Linked DNA regions of Homo sapiens: all the other regions are linked to region 2. Evidence: promoter capture Hi-C in human tissues and cell types (Jung and others, 2019). All regions are on one chromosome and are shown on one strand. Each heading gives the region's core, a stretch centred on a gene start or on the middle of the fragment in contact. The rest is flanking DNA. Distances are from core to core; before and after follow the strand shown. Region 1 overlaps DENND1A (DENN domain containing 1A). Region 2 holds the start of DENND1A (DENN domain containing 1A). Region 3 overlaps DENND1A (DENN domain containing 1A). Region 4 overlaps DENND1A (DENN domain containing 1A). Region 5 overlaps DENND1A (DENN domain containing 1A). Region 6 overlaps DENND1A (DENN domain containing 1A). Region 7 overlaps DENND1A (DENN domain containing 1A).

Region 1 (2,794 bases), core at 220-2,719, 500 kb after region 2:
GTGCCAGCTGTGTTTATTGATAAGCCTGAAAGGAGAATATTGCATTAGACCTGAAGGCAAATGTTGCAAACACTTCACCTGAGAATGTGAAGACCGCGTTTCTCCACTCGAGATAAGTGGACAATGGCAGGTCTCTCCAGGTTGGAGCTGCCCATAGACTCCTAGCAAGGAGGAGCTGCGGGAGGGCGTTGCCCTGGCTGCTCCCCAGGAGGGAGCTGGAAGGGGTGATGGAGCTCAGTTCCTTCTCCCAGACTCCCCGGGAAGGCATTCTTCCTCTTCCTCTGGGAGGGGTTGAACAAGAGGGTGCCTGGCCAAGCCAAGGATTCCCCCCTGGTTTTCTCTCCTAGGGTAGGAAATGGAAGCTCCTCCTTCCCACAGCTATAGAAGGAGTGAGTGAGTGGTGTCCTCCCCGGCAGCCCTGGGCACCCCTTGGTTAGAATGGCTGGCCTTGACTGGCTTCCCTCCCGAGGACCCCTGTGGAAACTGCTCTGCTCCCTACATTTAATAAGATGGGTGAGCCATAGATGCTTTCACATCCGTGAGCACTGACTTGAGACTTTGCCATCAGCGGGTGAGGAAGAAATCATTTTACCCATCGTACACATGAGGAGGCACACTGGAACGGCGTTGCTGGAATGAGTAGCTAATTCCTACTCCAAATCCAGCAGCAGCAGCACCTCTGCTTCTCTTGGCTGTGTGCAGCTCTCCCTCCTTGCCAGGAGAATGGCCTGATTGTGTGAGTTCAGTGACACTGGACCCTAGTCCTAGGTGCAGATAGCCAAGGCTAGAGACTGAGGCTTCCCTGAGAATATCACAGCAAACCCCTTCCAGGGCCCCCTTCTTTGTATTTCCTCCAAATGACTGATCTGCAAACAAAGTAGTTGCCTGCCTTCCAATCTGATAGATTGCAAAAAGCATGTATTGAAAGGTGCTGCCTCTGTTCTTCTCCCATCTGAACAAAGGTTTCTAAACCTCTTTAATGTAAAGTTTGAAAAGCTGGTTAAACCAAAACCAAAACCAAGCACCACCGTGGCTTCCAGAGAACTGTGGCAGGGAGGTCTGGATAGCAGCCCCAGGAACAGCTCTTGGGATGTGGTTGCCGGCTTGTCTCTGCGTATGGAGAATTCTGGCATCAGGGTCATCAGCCAGGTCATTTAGTGCCAATCCCATGCTAGGCTGGAGAAGATGCCGAGCTAGCAAATGCCTTCTCAGCACCCTTGGCTCTGAGTGCCCTGAGAGAGTCCTCTTGCCCCACTGAGCTTGGAAGCCACATGCAATTCCCTTCACTTCAGCCATTGCCTCCTCACCACCTCCAGCAGGTGCTCCCATGTTCTCAGGATACTGCACACCCCAGGCCTCTGGTCTGAACATACACTCCCCACCAAACTCACTCCTCCATCTTCCACCCCAGTGAATGACACAGGCTGGCCATCCAGAGCCAGGCTCCGCCCTCCTTCTCCCCAGATCCTCTCCTTCCACCCCTGAACACTACTTCATCCTCTCCTCTCCATCACCTTTGCCACAGCTGTGGTGCAGGCAGCATAATCATTCACCTGGACTGTTTCACAGGCTCCTAACTGGTACTCCCTGTAGTCCCCATGTGGCCTTGCCGGGTCCACTGTAAGCCGGGTCCACTGTAAGCATGCACTTACTGTAAGCATGCACTAGTGGCCGCCTCACCCCCGCTCCCAGCCTCTCCTAAAGACTCCATCTTCCTCCTTGGCCCCTTTGTGACCTGCCTGTCCAATCCCAGAGCAGGCCTCCTGGTAAATTCTCCCAACTCCCCTAGGAAGAGTGAGTTGCTTCTGTCCTCGTGCTACCCCAGGACTATGCACACGCCGCTTGTCACGCAGCCCTGCAATTTTTCTTTAATGCTTGCCTTCCCACCAGAAAGTCCACTGCAGGGCCTGGCACTGAGCTGGCAGTCAGTGCACATCCTGGGGTTTTATTATTGGTGTGGATGTTTAAATTAAGGAATAATTGATTGTTGTTGAAGCACTTGCTGTGCATTCAGCAAGTTATTTGGTTTCATTTCTGTTGCTATGCTTGTAATTCTAATTCATTTGAAGAAGAAAAATGAACATTCCCTTAGTGGTCACAAACTATTTCCAAATTCACTTTCCATAAAGAAGGATTTTGAAGTGAGGCCGGGCATGGTGGCTCACGCCTGTAATCCCAGCACTGTGGGAGGCCAAGGCAGGTGGATCACCTGAGGTCAGGAGTTCAAGACCAGCCTGGCCAACATGGTGAAACCCTGTCTCTACTAAAAATACAAAAATTAGCCAGGCATGATGGCATGCGCCTGTAGTCCCAGCTTCTCAGGAGGCTGAGGCAGGAGAATTGCTTGAACCCGGGAGGCAGAGGTTGCAGTGAGCCGAGATTGTGCCACCGCACGCCAGCCTGGGTGACAGAGTGAGACTCCATCTCAAAAAAAAGGATTTTGTTTCCAAATAGAAACAGCTTTGTGTTATAGCAATTTAGATCCCGTCTCATTTTATTTTGTGTGTTTTTCCTAGTTCCTAAGGTCAGTCATAGGTGTCCCCGGAAGGGAATGGAGAGGAATGAGGCAGGGAACTGGGACCCCCCTTCTCCTGTGCCCAAGGATGGGCAGAGCTGTGCAGGAGCAGCACAGTGGGGAAAGCAGTCAGGGGAAGGGAGGGGCCCATCATCCCTTGAGTCACATCAAGCGAAGCAAGCAACAGGATAAATTAGGCGTAAAGGTTTTATCTGTGAAAGAGACTAGGATACATGACCAAGTGCAAAGTGTGAACCTAACTTGGATTATGTGTTGTTG
Region 2 (2,700 bases), core at 159-2,658:
TCACTTTTTTTTTGGTTTTCATTTTAAAAAGTTTACCCTTTGACTTCAACAACCTAAAGGCAGAGGCAAAAGGGAGAAACTATCTTTATTCAGAAGGTGACTCCAACAGAAGAAGTCTTCTACGACTTATCTTCTGGCTTTCTTTCCTCCCATCCTGGCCGGGAGCTAGGACGCAGGACCAGTTACGTAGAGGCTATGGGGTGGGGGTAGGGTGGGGAGGCACTCCATGCATTTATAAGAACTAAAATGGCAGAAGTGATGAATGGCATTTCGGGACAGAAAATTGGAAAAAAAAAAAAAAAAAGGAAAAAAAGCCTAATATTAAAAATGTCTTTGGACTTGTGGCCAAAGGTGCCACCTTAAAGCATGACTATGTCACAGGTGTCTGGAATGATTCAGTCTGGACACTAATCTTGGCTTCTTCACTCGTTGCTAGTTATGTGACCTTGGGAATGTGGCTCAGTTTCCTCTTTGTAAATTAGGGAGATGAACACAGGATTATTGTGAGGATTGGCACTAATGATGTACGGAAATACTGTGTCTGATGCAGAAAGGGCACTCACCCGCTCATTAAAGGGTGGCTAATGGTAGCTGTGATTATTGCTTCCTTTATGATCCCTCTGGCCCTAGAGGGGATGAAATTGAGGTGTTCATGGAAGTGAATCCCAAGGGGGAGCAGGGGTAGGTAGCAGGCTGGTGATCTCGGCTCTCAAATCCTTTCATTTGCATTGAGTTAATCTCTATCAGGGACTGTTGTGTTAACAGGAGGCTTCGATGTTGGAGTTCCCAAAACGGCTGATAAAGGGAGGCAGAGGTCCTCAGCGGGAGGGCAGAGCTGAGCCACCACGTGGGTCCACGAAGCCCCCAGGTGGCTTTCCTGTAGGTATGTGGGGTCTCCTTCAAGCTCTAAGGGGAAAGGAAGAGGAAAGGCCTTCAGATGGGGAAGTGGACGGTGTGATGGAGAAGAGGTTCTGCACGGAACTTACTGGAAGGTGCGGGATGTTAAAGGGAAAACGTGTTTTCATGGAGGCCTGGGCGGGGGATTAGCTCTCCGTTAGAGAGGCTGGGTGGGAGGCCTCCAATGGGAGGATTGGTGGCGGTTTCATCGGGAGGGCTTGGGGTCTCCATGAGAGGATTAGGGTCTCTTCAGGGCGGCTGTGAGTGGAGGTTTCCAGCGGGGCGCAGTGGGGTGCAGATGTGTAAGGGCCTGCAACGGAACGCCAGAGTCCTCCGGGGCCCGCGCCCTGGGAGACGTGCGGGTGACCGCGCTCCCGCCCCGCCCCCACCGGCCACGGCCCCGCCCCCGCGAGCGGACTACACTTCCCAGCAGCCCCAGCGGGCAGCGGCGGCGGCAGCGCGGGCGGGAGGGGCGGTGGTGAGAGGCGGAGGGGGCGGCGCGCGCCGGGCACGCGCGCCGGCGACCATGGCGTTCGCCGGGCTGGAGCGAGTACATTAACCCCTGGAGGCGGCGGCGGCGGCGAGGGAGCGAGCCTCGAGCGGGCGGGCCCCAGCCTGAGGGAAGGGAGGAAGGGGCGGGGAGAGCGCCAGAGGGAGGCCGGTCGGCCGCGGGCGGGCGGGCAGCGCAGCGCCGAGCGGGGCCCGCGGGCCCATGAGGAGGCCTGGGGACCATGGGCTCCAGGATCAAGTGAGTGCGGCCGGGCCGGGCGGAGCCGGGCCGGGCGCGGGGCGGCGAGGCCGGGCCAGGGCTGCAGGCCGCGGGCCGCGCGGGGGACTTGTTGCCGAGACCAGAGGGGCGCCCCGCGTGACGCCGGCACGCGGGGAGGGGGACGGTTGCTATGGCGATCCAGGGAGGCGCGGGGGCGGGGTGCGCGCGGGGTGGCAGGGCGCCGGGGGTCAGGTGTCCCCTCCTCACCTGGGGGTCGGAACAGCTGAGATTACAGGGCGGCCCCCTCCCCGGGTTTACGGAGAGCCCCTGAAAATGGTCCTTCAACTGTGGGGAAGGGGAGTGGGAAAGCCCCGGAAGCACCTCCCCATGTTTGGGCATGTTTGGGGCGCCCCTGAAAGTTGGCAGGTCCGGAGAGGTTGCAGCCTGGCCGCTTGAGGCCTGCGGCCCCCACAGAAGTCGCGTGAGGTTCTTAGAGGGAGGGGCCGCTCATGGTGTGGCCACCTAAGGTGTGGATGGCCGGGGAGGAAGGCCTGTCTCTCTATTTCCCCCCTCTTATCTGTGAAAATCTCCACGCAGCAAGGTCCAAAGGCTGTGAAGGAGGATACCTCTGTGTTGTAACCGAGCACCTGCTCTTGATAATCGTTGGAAAGGCTTTGTAACTCAATCTGGCGAATTCCCTCACTCATTCATTCACCTGGAGTTCCCGGTGGAGGGTTAGCTTTCCGGGGAAATTGTTGATACATGTAACTTCAGAATCCACTGAAACATTGTTGCTGTCCTTGTAGACTTAGAAGTTGACTTTGGAAAGTGCAACTCTTAAGCGGTCCAATTTGGGTGTGTGGCTTTCGACTCTATCTCCCCTCCCAGCCAGGTCCTCTTGTGGCCTCTCCCTTCCTCTGCCCCAGAACTGGAGATGTTTTATCTCTAATTACTAACAAATGTTCACTTTTTCCTCTGTGACTAATAGAATTGTTTAAGGGCATTAAAAAGCAAAGTTGACAGCATAGGCTTTTCTGTAAAACAACTTTCCTAGGACACTTTAAACCCTCTTACAAGAAAGTTTGTGGAATGTG
Region 3 (2,803 bases), core at 257-2,756, 350 kb after region 2:
ACTGAGCAGCAAAGAGAAAGCAGATCTTCAAAGATTGTATGTCAGTAAAGGAAACAGATATGTCAATTACATATCTATTACAGTATAGCATAATAGAGACCACAGGGAAATAGGAGTCGGGCACAGAAGGGCCCAGGAGAGAGAGTAACAAAATTTTGGGGAGGATAATGGAGTCTTTCTGAAGATGGCAAATTCCAAGATGCCTTTTAAATGACAAAATGAGGTAGCCTCAGGGAACCAAAGTAACTTGGGTGAGTTATTTTCCCTCTTTGAGCCTCAGTTTTCCACATTAAAAGAGGAGTACCAGGCTTGCTCTGAGGATTATTATGGCAAACAGCTATGGTAATGATTATCAAATGCTTGGCACAGTGCTTGCATGTTGTCAGCATTCAAGAAATGGTACCTGCATTTGTTTTTAATAAAATTGTTGCTGATAATTATAGGCAAGATTGGAGGACAGTTAATAACCTCTATGTCCTGACAGTCTCAGCGTGCACAAATGGGACCTCCTATATGCAAGCTGGTTTGTAACAGGGTTGAGAATGTTCTACAGCAGTGGTTTCCAGCTTGGGCCTCTATACTCATTAAGGATTCTGAAGATTGTAATGGGGGGAGATGTGGTCTGTAAGGTATTTATTGTATTTCAATGGAATTCACAGCTTTGATTCTGTGATGCTACATGAGCTATCAAGAGGAGAAATCGTGCCCTGCCTGTCTTTGTGTCCCCTGCATTTGGCATAGGACCTGGTAATTTTAGTGTATCAGCCTATCCATCGTTGACCTTAAAATCTCCCCTTTGGCCAAAGTTGTGTGTTTACTCTGACAGATTCTGCTTCTTAAACATTTGGTAAATCCACATCCTCTTCCTCATCCCTCCTAAACACCACCTAATCTAAGCTTTTATTTTCCCCCTGCATTATTACCAGCAGACTCAAGACTGGCTCATCTGACTCCAGCCTCATCCCTCCAATCTTTCCGCCTCATGCCCCAGAGTGACCTTTCTAAAAACATAAACTCCATTTCCCACCTAACTAAAACTATTCCATCAGTGAATGTAATTTTTCAAAAAAACATTTAAGGACAAAAAAATTCTCCTATAACTTCCCATTACCTAGAGATTCAAGGCAACTTCCCTTTGTTGGCTTTGAAATCAAACAGACCTGTTTTCACATCCTGGCTTCCTCACTTCATGTCCGTGTGATCTTGGGCAAAATTACTTAAGCTCTCTAAGACTTAATTTCCACATAAGGTTGTTTGAGAATTAAATGTAATATATATAATATATTTAAAACATATATCCTATCAGCACAATCGACAGTAGCTGATGATGATGAATTATGGATGTGAATTATGATCCGCAGGGCATTCAGCCCTCCTTCATGATACCCCCCTGTTTTTGTTTCTCCATAGCTGTAGTTCTCTCTCCTCCCTGCTTTAAACTCTGTACTGTAGGTTTTTAGAACTGTTAATGGTTGTCCCAAATTTACATGTTGTTTCATAACTTCATACTTTGTATGCAGCATTTCTTTTGTCCCAGTGTCTTACCTCATCTATTAATCTCTCACTCATTCTTCAAGACCTGCTCTCAAGTATTTAATCACACACACACACAAACACATGCACACACACACACACAAACACACACTGAATCTTTTCTGACCTTCACGTAGATTTGACCATATCTTTCTCTATGTCCCCACAGCCCCTTGTGTACCTTGTGTAATTGTACTGATTTATTGCCCATTTCCCTTTTACTTGTCAGTTTTTTGGAGTAGCAGTAATTGAGTTTTATTCATCTTTGTTTTCCAAGAATCTAGCAGCCACTGAATAGATAGATGGAAGGATGGAAGGCACATATGGATTGGGTTATTATGGTAGATGAAATCTTGTAAAACATGGCATCTACGCTGGAAACTTTATTAAAAGAGGCTTGGGGCCAGACATGGTGGCTCATGCCTATAATCCCAGCATTTTGGGAGTCTGAGGCAGAAGAATTGCTTGAGGCCAAGAATTCAAGTTTGCAGTGAGCTGTGATTGCGCCACTGCTCTCCAGCCATGATAGAATAATTGGAACTGGATTAATCCTCCCACAATTTAAAACTCTGGACAAATATGAAAACAGCTGTTTTCACATGTTGGACAACAGACAAGACAAGATTGTTATCCCTGAGTGAAAGGAAGCCAGTGAGGTGAGGCCTACTATCCCACTGGCTTTCTGCCTTGAGGCATTTTCTGGATATTGGTACTAGAAGGGGAATCCCCAGCAAAGCACAACAGTCTTGGGGAGCTGAAAGATTAAAGAACAGTTTGAAGGGGAGATGGTTTACATTTGCAAGTGAGAGTATCAGACAGGAGGGAGCTACTCAGCTGAAGAGCTCCAGAAACCTGAATTGACAAACCTGCTGAAGACTAATCTGCCCATATGTAGGGTAAAACTCCTGACAGGAAACTATAAGATGAACAGTTCTCAGAGCTCACACAAGTCTAGGAATCCTGCAGGTTCTGACCAACCAGAGTCAGAGATCTTGTTGGTCATTCAGGACAATGATAAGAGACACCAGTAGGGCATGACTTGATAGTACATCTAAATTAGCTATAAAGATCATTTTAGCCCTGCCCTGAAAGAGCTTAAAATTAAGCTTTGAGAGGCACAAGAGAGGGCTTTAGGGGTCCTAAAATGTGCTGGATTTTAATCTGAGTGCCAGTTACATGGGGGTGAATTCGTCAAGCTGAGCACCAATGGTGTGTGCATTTTTATGTGTGTATGTTAAACTTCGATGAAAAGTTTTAAACAAACCTATTT
Region 4 (2,700 bases), core at 27-2,526, 310 kb after region 2:
CGATCTCAGCTCACTGCAACCTTCGCCTCCTGGGTTCAAGCAATTCTTCTGCCTCAGCCTCCCAAGTAGCTGAGATTACAGATATGCGCCACCACACCCAGCTAATTTTTTGTATTTTTAGTAGAGAAGGGGTTTCACTATGTTGGTCAGGCTGGTCTCAAACTCCTGACCTCAAATGATCCGCCCACCTTGGCCTCCCAAAGTGCTGTGATTACAGGTGTAAGCCACCATGCCCAGACTGGACAATTTCAATGTGAACTGTTTTCCAGGTGGAAAAATTAGGTAAAGAAGAGACTGGGCCCTTTGTATTATCTATGTTACAGATTCTGTGCTGATCTCTATACTGAAGACTCTATAGGAAAACTGTCTTTTCAATTTCTCTGCTACATTTTTTAAGTTGAAATTTAATCCACATACCACAAAATTCACCCTTTTAAAAGTATACAGTTCTGGCCCGAACTGCAGTGGCTCACACCTGTAATGCCAGCACTTTGGGAGGTGGGCAGATTGCTTGAGCCTAGGAGTTCGAGACCAATCCTGGGCAACATGGCAAAATCATGTCCCTGTAAAACAAATACAAAAATTAGCCAGGTGTGATGGTGTGTACCCGTAGTCCCAGCTCTCTGTGAGGCTGAAGTAGAAGAATCACCTGAACGTGGAGAGTTGAGGCTGCAACGAGCTGTGATCACGCCATTGCACTCCAACCTGGTCAAGGAGAGTGAGACTCTGTCTCAATCAATCAATCAATCAATCAGTCAATCAATGTATGTATACAGATCAGTGGTTTGTAGTCTATTCCAACTATCTAATCCACTATCCATCTAATAGATATATCACCACCACTAATTCCAGACACATTAGATTTTTAATACAGTCTATATTGTTAGTAAAGTAATACATTCTTATTATAAAAAACTTTTTTAGGCTGGGTGCGGTGGCTCATGCCTGTAATCCCAGCGCTTTGGGAGGCCCAGGTGGGTGGATCACCTGAGATCAGGAGTTCAAGACCAGCTTGGCTAACATGGTGAGACCCCGTCTCTACTAAAAATGCAAAAATTAGCTGGGCGTGGTGGCGTGTGCCTGTAATCCCAGCTACTCTGAGGCTGAGGCAGGAGAATCACTTGAACCTGAGAGGTGGAGGTTGCAGTGAGCTGAGATCGCGTCACTGCACTCCAGCCTGGGTGACAGAACGAGACTCTGTCTCAAAAATAATAATAAGAAGAAATAAAAAACTTTTTTAGCCTTTTAAAGTACATATAGCAAAAAGCGAAAGGTCTATAAAAATGGGTTAGTCTGTGTAGATGGTTGCCATTCAGCCTTTAGCCCTGTCCCTCTAGAGGCACCCCGGAAGGCACCGATGTCAGGAGTATAGCGGGACAGCTCTCACTGGCCTCAGCAGTGTCACTCCCAGCGTTACTGAGACTTTCAGGGTTAAAGAAGACAAGGTGTCCCTTTAACACAGGAGTGACCTTCCCACATAGGGGAATGGTGCTTGTTGGCTCAGCCACCCACCCTTTGGGGAGCTGTCTGGACCACAGCCTAACCACCTCCTGGCTACTGTATCTGCCTCTGAGCCTCTGGACCTGCCCTGCCGCTCCCACCTTCCCCAGCCCCCTCCTTCTGCCTAATGTCGGGAGGGGCAACAGCCCGCCTCCCCTGCCCTAGTTTCTGCTGGCCTCCATGCAACGTTGCTGGCCCCGACTCCTGCCTACCTGCCTGAGCATTGGCCTGGTTTTCCATTTCTCATGACACATTCTGTACGTGAGTGACACATTCCTCATTCCTCCCTGATTTGGAGCCTGGCTTGAACCCAACACTTAGAAAACTCTGGACATTCTGGGGCACAGTATAGGGGGCTCTATAGCAACGACACTCTAGATATGTTCCTGGGAGCCATAGTTCACCCATAAGGCAGAGGCCACAGACCAAGTAACATCAGGGTCACAGGAAGTTTCAGCAGTGCAGCAAGTGACCTCATGGCAGGGCTTCTGGAGATAGTGTGCCTGCCTTTTTCAGGTGCTGGCACCAGGGACAGTATGTGCAGCACCAGCATAGTGATAGGCTCTGAGTGACCTCTCAGCAAGTGCGGGTTCGTCTTCCCTTTAAAACGTGATGAATGGAAAGGCGAGGCTGCAAAGGTAATTGGATGCTATGCATCTTGGCACATGGGATGAGTCCTGGAAAAACAGCAAGAGAAAATCTCCTTTTATTATCAGTTGCGCTATTTTTTTATCCTTTTTTTCTGTTACTTTCTCTTCATTTATTTCTCCATAAGCCTCTTTCTCTTTTTCTCTTATTTATTTTGTGGCTCATTCATTCATGTGTTTCCACAGGCTCTCATGGGCTGCTTGTGGCTCACAACTTGAGACTTCCTTTCCGTGTCTGGCTTTAGCTATTACGGTTCTCATTGAATTCTCTGTGGCAGCAGAGAGCCCTGTCTCCTGACCTTTGCTCTGTGATTAACTTCTCCTGCCGCAGTGGTCTTAGCCACGGAGCCCTTCCTGATGTTTTCCGAGTCTGTCGCCTTCCGGTAGGCCAAGGAGGCTCAAAAGGGCGGGCTACCCCAGGCTTTGATGTTGACCTCTCCAGAATTTTGTCCAGGTGTTATCTTTGTAACTCATGTGTTCATTTCTGTTGGGTCCAGTGGCTTGGGGCTCTAGAAGGCATCTCCACCACCCCCACCTGCATAGGTTACCCCAG
Region 5 (2,700 bases), core at 93-2,592, 380 kb after region 2:
TAAAATTATATCATCATGAAATCTGAATAAGGCTAATACACCCCCCTCGAAACACATTTCACACACGCTGGTCTCAGTTTTAAAGAACTTTTGCAGATAGATTTGTGTGCTTTCAATTCATCCCCTTTTCTGCTTAGAGTTTCTTATTTCATAACCCATGCTGCATGACGGTGCATGTGAGGGTTCCTCTCCCCATGTCTGGCCCACCGCAGGTCCTTGGTATATGTTAGGTTAAAGAGCAAAACCCATGGGTATTGGTGTTTGAAGACGCGTCCTCTTCTGTGCCAGTGTCTGTGGAAAGGCCAGTGTAGATGGAGCACTATGGGAGCTGTTTATTCAGCTAGCTTGTGTGGCCCTCTCTGGGCCAACCTGCTAGCTGGGCTTCCCTAAGATAAAGGGAACAGAGCTACTGCCCACAGGGAGCGAATGCTGGGTGGGGGCAGTAAGCAAACTGTTTAAACAGGCAGCAGCCAGCTCACTCTGGTCCCACTTGCTTAGTTCATCCCAAGAGGCCAGCTTCCAGATTCAGCTGTGGGTACACTGGTATCATCCACCTTATAGCCCATGATTTTGCATGTGATTCTGCTGAGTCATATTTATCCACCTAAAACCCCTGGAGGACGCAGAAGTTGAGATAAAAGCAGATTGATAGCCTGGCTTTCAAGGATGAATGCACGAGGTTGTGTTGGAGCAGGTTGGAAAAACACCACATATATCTGTGTCCTGATTGAGTAACCCTGTTGATCTCAAGTTGTTTATGAAAAAACAATAAAAACTGTTTTCGGATTTGTTTTTGGTGTAGTGGAAAGCAGAAAAATATTTTTAAAGTAGTAAAATCAAAACAGCACCATAGTCCCACTGATTTTTACTACATATGCCTTTTGTATTTACTCTTTATTTTTTCATTATGCAAAGGGTTTACATAGGTACAAGCAAATCTCAGTTAAAAGTTAGTTCCCCGCCCCCATTTAACAAGATTTCATATGCATTTTTACATAACTGCAGAATATTCCATCAAGTATAACTACCATAATTTCCATAACCACCCTCCCTTGTTGGACATTTAGGTTATTTCCAGTCTTTTGATATTATAAGTAATACTCCACTAAACATCTTTGTGAATAAAGCTTTGAAATGCTGTATTTCAAAGCCTTCTGAGTGGAAGAACTGAGTCTGTGAGCAGGAGCCTGACTGTGGGGGCCAACTTGTCACAGCATCGCAAGAAAGCAGATTTCGGTTGACTCAGCCTCGCGGTGGCTCAAGATGGAAAAAGAATCAAGAACCCTTGATGGGTGGGAGGGTGCGCACTCCCTGCCCTCCACACAGACAAGCAGAGGATTCCCAGAACACACATAAGGGATGTGACTAATTTGTCTGTGCCCCCATCTTGTGCTGAAAATAGGTTTGAGGAACCTTAAGACACTATGTACAGTACAGCAAGATGAGAGATAAGGAAGCAAGGAAACCGGGAGAAAGAGGAAACTGCATGACGCCTGGAAGGGACTGATGTGTGTGTGCAGCTGTGTGTCTGTGTGAGGCTCTGTGACCCTCCACACAGGTTGGGAGTGGTGGAGCTGGGACTCACCCCATCACACCCAGGTCTGTCTAAAGAGCCCATGCTTTAAGGAAAAAAAATGTAAAAAATACATATAACATAAGATGTGCTATTTTAACCATTGTTAAGTATACAGTTCATTGGCATGAATGGCATTCACAATGTGCAACCATCACTACTGTCTATTTGCAACATTTTTCATCACTCCCAACAGAACCTCTGTATCCAGTGAGCAAGAACTTCTCATTTCCCTTTCCCCCAGCCCTTAGTAACCTCTAGTCTACTTTCTGTCTCTATGAATTTGCCTATTCTAGATAGTTCATAGAAGCGGAATCATTCAATATTTGTCCCTTTGCCTGGCTTATTTTGGTAGCATCATGTTCACCAGGTTCATCCGTGTTATAGCATGCATCAGAACTTCAGCCCTCTTTAAGACTGAATAATATTCCACTATCTGTATATACCATATTTTGTTTATCCACTCACTTGTTAATGGACACCTGGGTTGTTTCTATGTTTTGGCTGTTATGAGTAGTGCTGCTGTGAATGTGTGTGTATAATTAATAGTTGAACACCTGCTTGCAAGTCATTTGGCTATATACCTAAAAGCGCAGTTGTGGGTCATCTGGTAATTCTACGTTTAACTTTTTGAGGAACCTCCAAAATGTTTTTCACAGAGTCCGTGCTTTTGTTAAGTGGGTAGCAGTGTCTGTGGGAAGCACGAATATGGACCCAAGAATATCTGTAGGAAAAGTTCATGAAACATTTGTTTTATTTTCCGGTATATTTTAGGCAAGTGGATAAGGAATTATAGCCAAAACCTACAGGCCGGAGCTAAGCAGATTCATTGATGGGGGAGTGTAAAGGGGACTGCAGAAGGGGCTGGTAACTTGCTAATTAACATTTTTTCCCATTTTAGTGGTCATCTGAAGTCAAGATCATGTCCTGGGAATGAAGCAAGGATAAGGGGAGGTGCTTCTGCCCCAGGACTTCAGGGACCATCACTATAGCTCTGTGGCTCTAAGTGGCTAAGGAGGCCACCGAATGTGATGGAAGGAGTATGGCCTTTGGAATCACCTGGGTTTTAATTCTAGTTCTGTCATCTACTAGAAGATGACTCTGGAAGTTACTTCACCATCCTGAGA
Region 6 (2,714 bases), core at 172-2,671, 410 kb after region 2:
CAGTGCCATTGACCAGAATTGAGTCACATGCCATGCCTCTGCTCCAGCCCATCACTGGCAAGGAAGTGAGGCCACCAGGTTAACTTAGATATGAGGACCCAGGCCAGGTGTGGTGGCTCACATCTGTAATCAAAGCACTTTGGGAGGTCAGGCAGGCAAATCACTTAAGACCAAGAGTTCAAGACCGGCCTGGCCAACATGACAGAAACCTTTCTCTACTAAAAATATAAAAATTAGCCTGTAATCCTAGTTATTCAGGAGGCTGAGACGCAAGGATCACTTGAACCTGGCAGGTGGAGGTTGCAGTGAACCAAGATCGTGCCACCACATTCCAGCCTGGGCAGCAGGGTGAGACTCTGCCTCAAAAAAAAAAAATTTAAAAAGATATGAGGACCCAGCCCAGCTCTGGGGATGGAATCTGAAAGAGTCAGCCTCATGGAGGAGGAGGGAGGCATGAACAAATTGGGGGTTCTGTTAGGCTAGAGAGAGGAGGGAATGAGGGCTGGGTGGGCAGCCAACAATAGTGACTGGAGACAGATGATCCCCTCCTTCAAGGAGCTTACACTGTAGGGAAATACAATAGTAAACAAGGAGACAGACCGATGTACCATTTACAGTTCCATCCGCGCTGTACAGGAGGTGAGCAGAGTTTGGTGCTTCTCCTTCAGATGGTGCATCAGGGAAGTCCTCTTGGAGCTGACATCAGCCATCCGTGTTGGGTGGAGGGGAGAAAATGTTCCAGGCAGAGAAGGGAGGCAACACGGCCCCTAGGAGGGACCGAAGGGAACGGGGGAGCCCAGGATGTAGCAAGCAAGGTGAGTGGCTTGAGTTGAAGTTACAGATTTAGGCAGGTTCACGTCATGCAAGGTTTTAGAGGCCATAGAAAGGAGTTTGGGTTTTATTCAAAATCAGTGGAAGGCCAGTGTAGGGCTTTTTAAAATGGGTGTGACACAGTTAATTTTATATTTGTTAAAAGTCCTGCTGGCTGCTCAGAGGATGGCTTTATGAAAGCACAGAGAACAATTGGAAGGTCCCTGTGATGATCACCTAGACCACCTAGACAGGTGGGGGTGGCATGGACTGTGGTGTCAGTGGAAATGGAGAGGAAAGAGCTTTTTTGGAGATGGGATCAGTAGGACTTGCCAGGTACTGTGCTAGCTCCATTCCCATGGGCTCTCTTGTCCAGTCTTCTCTGTATGCCTAGACAGTCATTTTTTAAAATAAATTATTATATCCCCTTTGCAAATAAGAAAGTTCTGAGGAGTGGCCTGCCCTGGGTCACAGCATTTAGCTGAGCCAGAGTAGGGAGGAGTAGGACAGCTGGATTCTGGGGTAGGTGGGCAGGACCAACTCAATTAGCATTTTACTGGGATTGTTTTCCTAGATGAAGCTTTTGTTTTTGAGGGTGATATTTTGAGAACTGCTGTCTCCGTGGGAATATCTTAGTTGTGTACAGCAAAGCCATCTCTGCATCTACATTTTCTTGTTCAACACATGGCTGTCTTTATAATGAGTGCCTTCTTTATATGGGGTTATCAGAGTAACTCTGAGTCTATTTTACAACTAAATTAATGATGTCGAGGAAACATTTATTTGGCTCCCTTTCTATTATAATATTGTTACCAGCTAATTGCCTTTGAATATTCCTACTTATAAGGTCCTTTGTGCCAGTTTAAATCTACCCCGTGTAGGTGAATCCCTAATGCCGCTCAGGGCTACTCAGTCACTTGGAAAGTTTCTCTTCTTGTAATAACAAGAGCAATCATGAAAATTTATGCCAGGAAAAAAGGGTCAGCTTGAGACAACACCTAAAAAATAATAATATATATTTTTTTCTGATTATAAAAGTAACATTTTTAATGCAGAAAATTTGGAAAAGACAGAAAAGCATAGAGAAAGAAAGGTCACTCACATTTCCACCACCCAGAGGCGTTCCGCATTCAATTTTGCTACTTCTCTTTACAAGTGTTTTTTATGCCTTTTTAAATAATTGAGTTCAGTCAATATCATTTTTCTTCCTTTTTCATGCAATTATATGGATTTTCCTCACACTATGAGATATTGTGTGTAAATAATCAGTTGTAAATGGTTGCGCAATTCCTCTGCTTGAATTTGCCTCACTGTGCCACAGTTTATTTAACTGTGCCCCTCTTGTTTTTTTTGTTTGTTTTGTTTTGTTTTGTTTTGCTGTTGTTTTTTTGAGACAGGGTCTTGCTCTGTTGCCCAGGCTGGAGTGCAGTGGTACGGTCTCAGCTGACTGCAACCTCCCCCTCCTGGGTTCAAGCAATTCTCCTGTCTCAGCCTCCCAAATAACTGGGAATTCAGGCGCACCACCATGCTCAGCTAATTTTTTGTATTTTTAGCAGAGACAGGATTTCACCATGTTAGCCAGGCTGGTCTCAAACTCCTGGCCTCAAGTGATCCACCCACCTTGGCCTCCCGAGTGCTGGGATTACAGGCATGAGCCACCATGCCCGGCCCTCCCTTCCTGTTTAAATTTTTGTTGTTGTGATATGAATGGGTTTTTTGGGGGGGGTTTTGTGGGTTTTTTGTTTTTTTTTTTTCTGAGACGGAGTCTTGCTCTGTTGCCCAGGCTGGAGTGCAGTGGTGCGATCTCGGCTCACTGCAAGCTCCACATCCCGGGTTCACACCATTCTCCTGCCTCAGCCTCCCGAGTAGCTGGGACTACAGGTGCCCGCCACCACGCCTGGCTA
Region 7 (2,700 bases), core at 35-2,534, 330 kb after region 2:
GTTTGTGACCATCAGGCATTTGTTGTTGATATGTGAGGTCACCACAGTAGGGGTGTTTGTCAACCAAATTAAACTTCCTCTTAATGACCTAAAATAATTGATTTGGAAGGCCGTTAAATGGGCCAGGGCAATGTGTAAGCAAGCCGAAATCCGGCATTTTCTGCACAAATTAATGCATGTTCTTGTTCTGTTTGTTCGTGTTTTGCTTTTGTTGGGGAAAATGTGGCTGGACCATGGGCTTTTTGAGCAGTCAGTGAACCTGAGTTTGAATCCCAGCTCTGCCATTTATCTATCTGTAATTTGGGCAAGTCGCTGAGCTTCTGTGGGTGTGTGCCTTAATATCCCCATCAGCAAAATGAGGACACCTGCCATAAAGTGATGACAATTAGAAATAATATGACCGAAGTGCCATGAACATTACTAGGCCATCACCCTCTGGTAGCTATTATTATGAATAAAATATTTCCAATAGGCATCTCTAGAAGATAGCTCAACAGTCGTTTTGTACAAAGAGGTCAAACTGTGATGTAGTAACCATGCCTTTTTTCCCCCCTGCTAAACTAATTTCTCCACACACTACTCTCTGTACTAAAGTTAAACATCCAGAGAGAAAAGTGTGTTTAAAAATGGAGTCTATAGATCTCTCTTTACATATTGTTTGATTCTCAGCTGATTTCAAGATGAAATTAAAGTTGGACACTTAAGAGATATGCCGTTTAGGCTACAAAAGAAGTAGGTTTTTTCTTTGGCTATTGGATTCAAACATTTATGATCTAAGTTCAGGCCTTTGCAGGTAAAGCTTGGGACCACCATTCTATGTTTGTTTAGAAACAAAGGCATTGACTGGGGGCTTTTCTGAAGTATGATGAACAGTGGCACTGAAGTTTTGTTTTGTGGTTGGAAGTTATCAACATCCCTGAGAGTGGTTTATGTGTCTTGCCTAAAATCCTTCCCTCCATAAACCCAAATATTGACAAAAGCTAAAAGGTGCAGATTGGAGCTGTGCCTAGACTCCTGGACACTTCCTTAGCCAAATATAATGTCTGCTAAACCTTGGTGCCTAGGAGTCCGTTGTTTCCAAAGATCCAGTGGTAATAAATTTATATCCTCCCTCTTCAGCATTTAACTGCAAATATTTTGTACTGACCGAATGGGTTAAATTATGAAGCTTGATAAGTACATATGCACACTACCCATCCCTAGCTTTAGAAGAAGGGGGAAAAAAAAGAAAGAAAAAGATAGCTATGATTTTTGGATGTCATCCCAATTTTTAAAAATAAGAGAATTTGGACATTTTGGCATATGGGGTTTTTTAAATGAAATTTCATGGAACTGAAAACAGTCAATTTTAGGTTTCCAAAAATTGTTTAGATTTTCGCTGGTATAAATTTGCTGCACATGGTTTTGGGGAAGTTCTGAGAGATGCATTTGGGACTTTGGGGTTGGTTTTTTTTTTTTTTTTTTTTTGAGATTTGTGATTGAGTTTTAAAAGGTGATTTTCCCCCCTCCCCCAACCTCAAAGTGTAAATCAGGGGAGATCAGAGTTCCATTTTCTAAGGACACTTTTGGGTAATGACATCATTATGCACTGCTGCACAACTGGACTTGGGGCTGAGTTATTGAGCCTTGTTTCAGCACCATTTGGACACTGCACAGTATATTCCCCTTCCCTGCCTCGGAGTGATTTTGGCCGTGCCATTAGCAGCAGCTGCTGGTGATAAGCACCGGGAGAGTCACCTGTGTAGGGTCAGGCTTATTGCACATCAAGGTTTGGCAGTGTCAGAAGAGAGGGAAGATGCCCAGGAGGGGGCTCCAGGCCACCTGCCGAGTGAAGATCAAAGGGTTGAAAGGTCAGAGGGCTCAGCTCCCTTAACTGTATCTGTCTGTGCAATAGCTATTTCAGATTGTAAATCTTGGCGATTTCATTAAGTCCTCCTGGCTGCTACTGGGGCATTGAAATAATAAAATTTTATATCTATTGCCTTTCCTGCCTCTGGCAGCCAGGCTGATACGTTGTCTGCAAGATGGGGTCGTCTTTATGAAAACCTTCCCTGGAATGATCTGAGTAGCATTAATGAAGCCTCAGATTGGGAAGTTGGGGTTCATAGGACGTCATCCTCAGCAGGAGGGAGGGGGTTTATAAATAAAGAAGACCCACACAAACCATTTAGCAGCCTTTTAGATTTGTGTAGCACCTCTCTTCTGAAAAGCAGGTCAGCAAAATATTACCTATTGCTAAATGTTTAATCTTAGGAGGAGGGGTGCACTTTCTCACTGCTGCTGCTTATTAAATAGCCCCTGTTCTAATGACCCTAGGGCCCATCCTTTTGAATAACCCCAAGAGCAGCTATACAGGTCTCACTTCTCACTCTGCAGACCTTTTGGGTGCTTTTAGAGACATGTCTCCTGAATATGATTTTCCAAGTATTTTTCCTAGATCTTAAAGTTGTTAAGGACTGTGAGGGCTCCTAGGCTCGTGGGTAGGACAAATCAAAGTAATAGCTGCCCCTTTACTGCCCATATGTTTAAGACCCCCTGTAGTTTGTTTGAAAAGTTAAGAGATTTTCACAGTGAAGGTGCCATTTCTGAAATTTAAAGTGTTCCTTTTCACCGCAAGATAAGTTCACTCTGATTAAGTCCGTAATTCTCACTAAGCCATGTTTATGGGGGCAATAAACAATGTTTCAGCGTGCTTGTTAA

The links. Contacts are between HindIII fragments. The study calls those that stand out against the background at their distance.
Region 1: a contact is called between a fragment that was not itself captured here and the fragment with the promoter of DENND1A in region 2, in 1 of the 25 tissues and cell types used here (dorsolateral prefrontal cortex).
Region 3: a contact is called between a fragment that was not itself captured here and the fragment with the promoter of DENND1A in region 2, in 7 of the 25 tissues and cell types used here (IMR-90 fibroblasts, aorta, dorsolateral prefrontal cortex and 4 more).
Region 4: a contact is called between a fragment that was not itself captured here and the fragment with the promoter of DENND1A in region 2, in 2 of the 25 tissues and cell types used here (H1 embryonic stem cells and aorta).
Region 5: a contact is called between a fragment that was not itself captured here and the fragment with the promoter of DENND1A in region 2, in 3 of the 25 tissues and cell types used here (IMR-90 fibroblasts, mesenchymal stem cells and spleen).
Region 6: a fragment that was not itself captured here is called in contact with the fragment with the promoter of DENND1A in region 2 in 2 of the 25 tissues and cell types used here (bladder and spleen).
Region 7: a fragment that was not itself captured here is called in contact with the fragment with the promoter of DENND1A in region 2 in 1 of the 25 tissues and cell types used here (liver).

The regions. Positions count from the first base shown.
Region 1 is chr9:123,433,678-123,436,471 of GRCh38, reverse strand. All of the region lies in intron 19 of DENND1A (DENN domain containing 1A), which reads left to right. Among named protein-coding and RNA genes, the nearest start is that of MIR601, 32 kb to the right of the region's middle. The HindIII fragment of the contact is 6,550 bases long and covers 1-2,794 here.
Region 2 is chr9:123,928,834-123,931,533 of GRCh38, reverse strand. It overlaps DENND1A (DENN domain containing 1A), which reads left to right and starts at 1,408. Exons shown (of 24, transcript NM_001352964.2): 1 at 1,408-1,645. The coding sequence starts at 1,629. RefSeq lists a silencer at 1,182-1,671 and enhancers at 2,022-2,221, 1,851-2,536, 2,472-2,551. The HindIII fragment of the contact is 15,721 bases long and covers 1-2,700 here.
Region 3 is chr9:123,577,676-123,580,478 of GRCh38, reverse strand. All of the region lies in intron 12 of DENND1A (DENN domain containing 1A), which reads left to right. It overlaps LOC105376266 (a long non-coding RNA gene), which reads left to right. Exons shown (of 2, transcript XR_930332.3): 1 at 1-2,803. Among named protein-coding and RNA genes, the nearest start is that of MIR7150, 93 kb to the right of the region's middle. The HindIII fragment of the contact is 6,217 bases long and covers 1-2,803 here.
Region 4 is chr9:123,617,470-123,620,169 of GRCh38, reverse strand. All of the region lies in intron 10 of DENND1A (DENN domain containing 1A), which reads left to right. Among named protein-coding and RNA genes, the nearest start is that of MIR7150, 130 kb to the right of the region's middle. The HindIII fragment of the contact is 5,109 bases long and covers 1-2,700 here.
Region 5 is chr9:123,548,020-123,550,719 of GRCh38, reverse strand. All of the region lies in intron 13 of DENND1A (DENN domain containing 1A), which reads left to right. Among named protein-coding and RNA genes, the nearest start is that of MIR7150, 64 kb to the right of the region's middle. The HindIII fragment of the contact is 5,418 bases long and covers 1-2,700 here.
Region 6 is chr9:123,517,105-123,519,818 of GRCh38, reverse strand. All of the region lies in intron 13 of DENND1A (DENN domain containing 1A), which reads left to right. Among named protein-coding and RNA genes, the nearest start is that of MIR7150, 33 kb to the right of the region's middle. The HindIII fragment of the contact is 4,477 bases long and covers 1-2,714 here.
Region 7 is chr9:123,597,224-123,599,923 of GRCh38, reverse strand. All of the region lies in intron 11 of DENND1A (DENN domain containing 1A), which reads left to right. Among named protein-coding and RNA genes, the nearest start is that of MIR7150, 110 kb to the right of the region's middle. The HindIII fragment of the contact is 3,343 bases long and covers 1-2,700 here.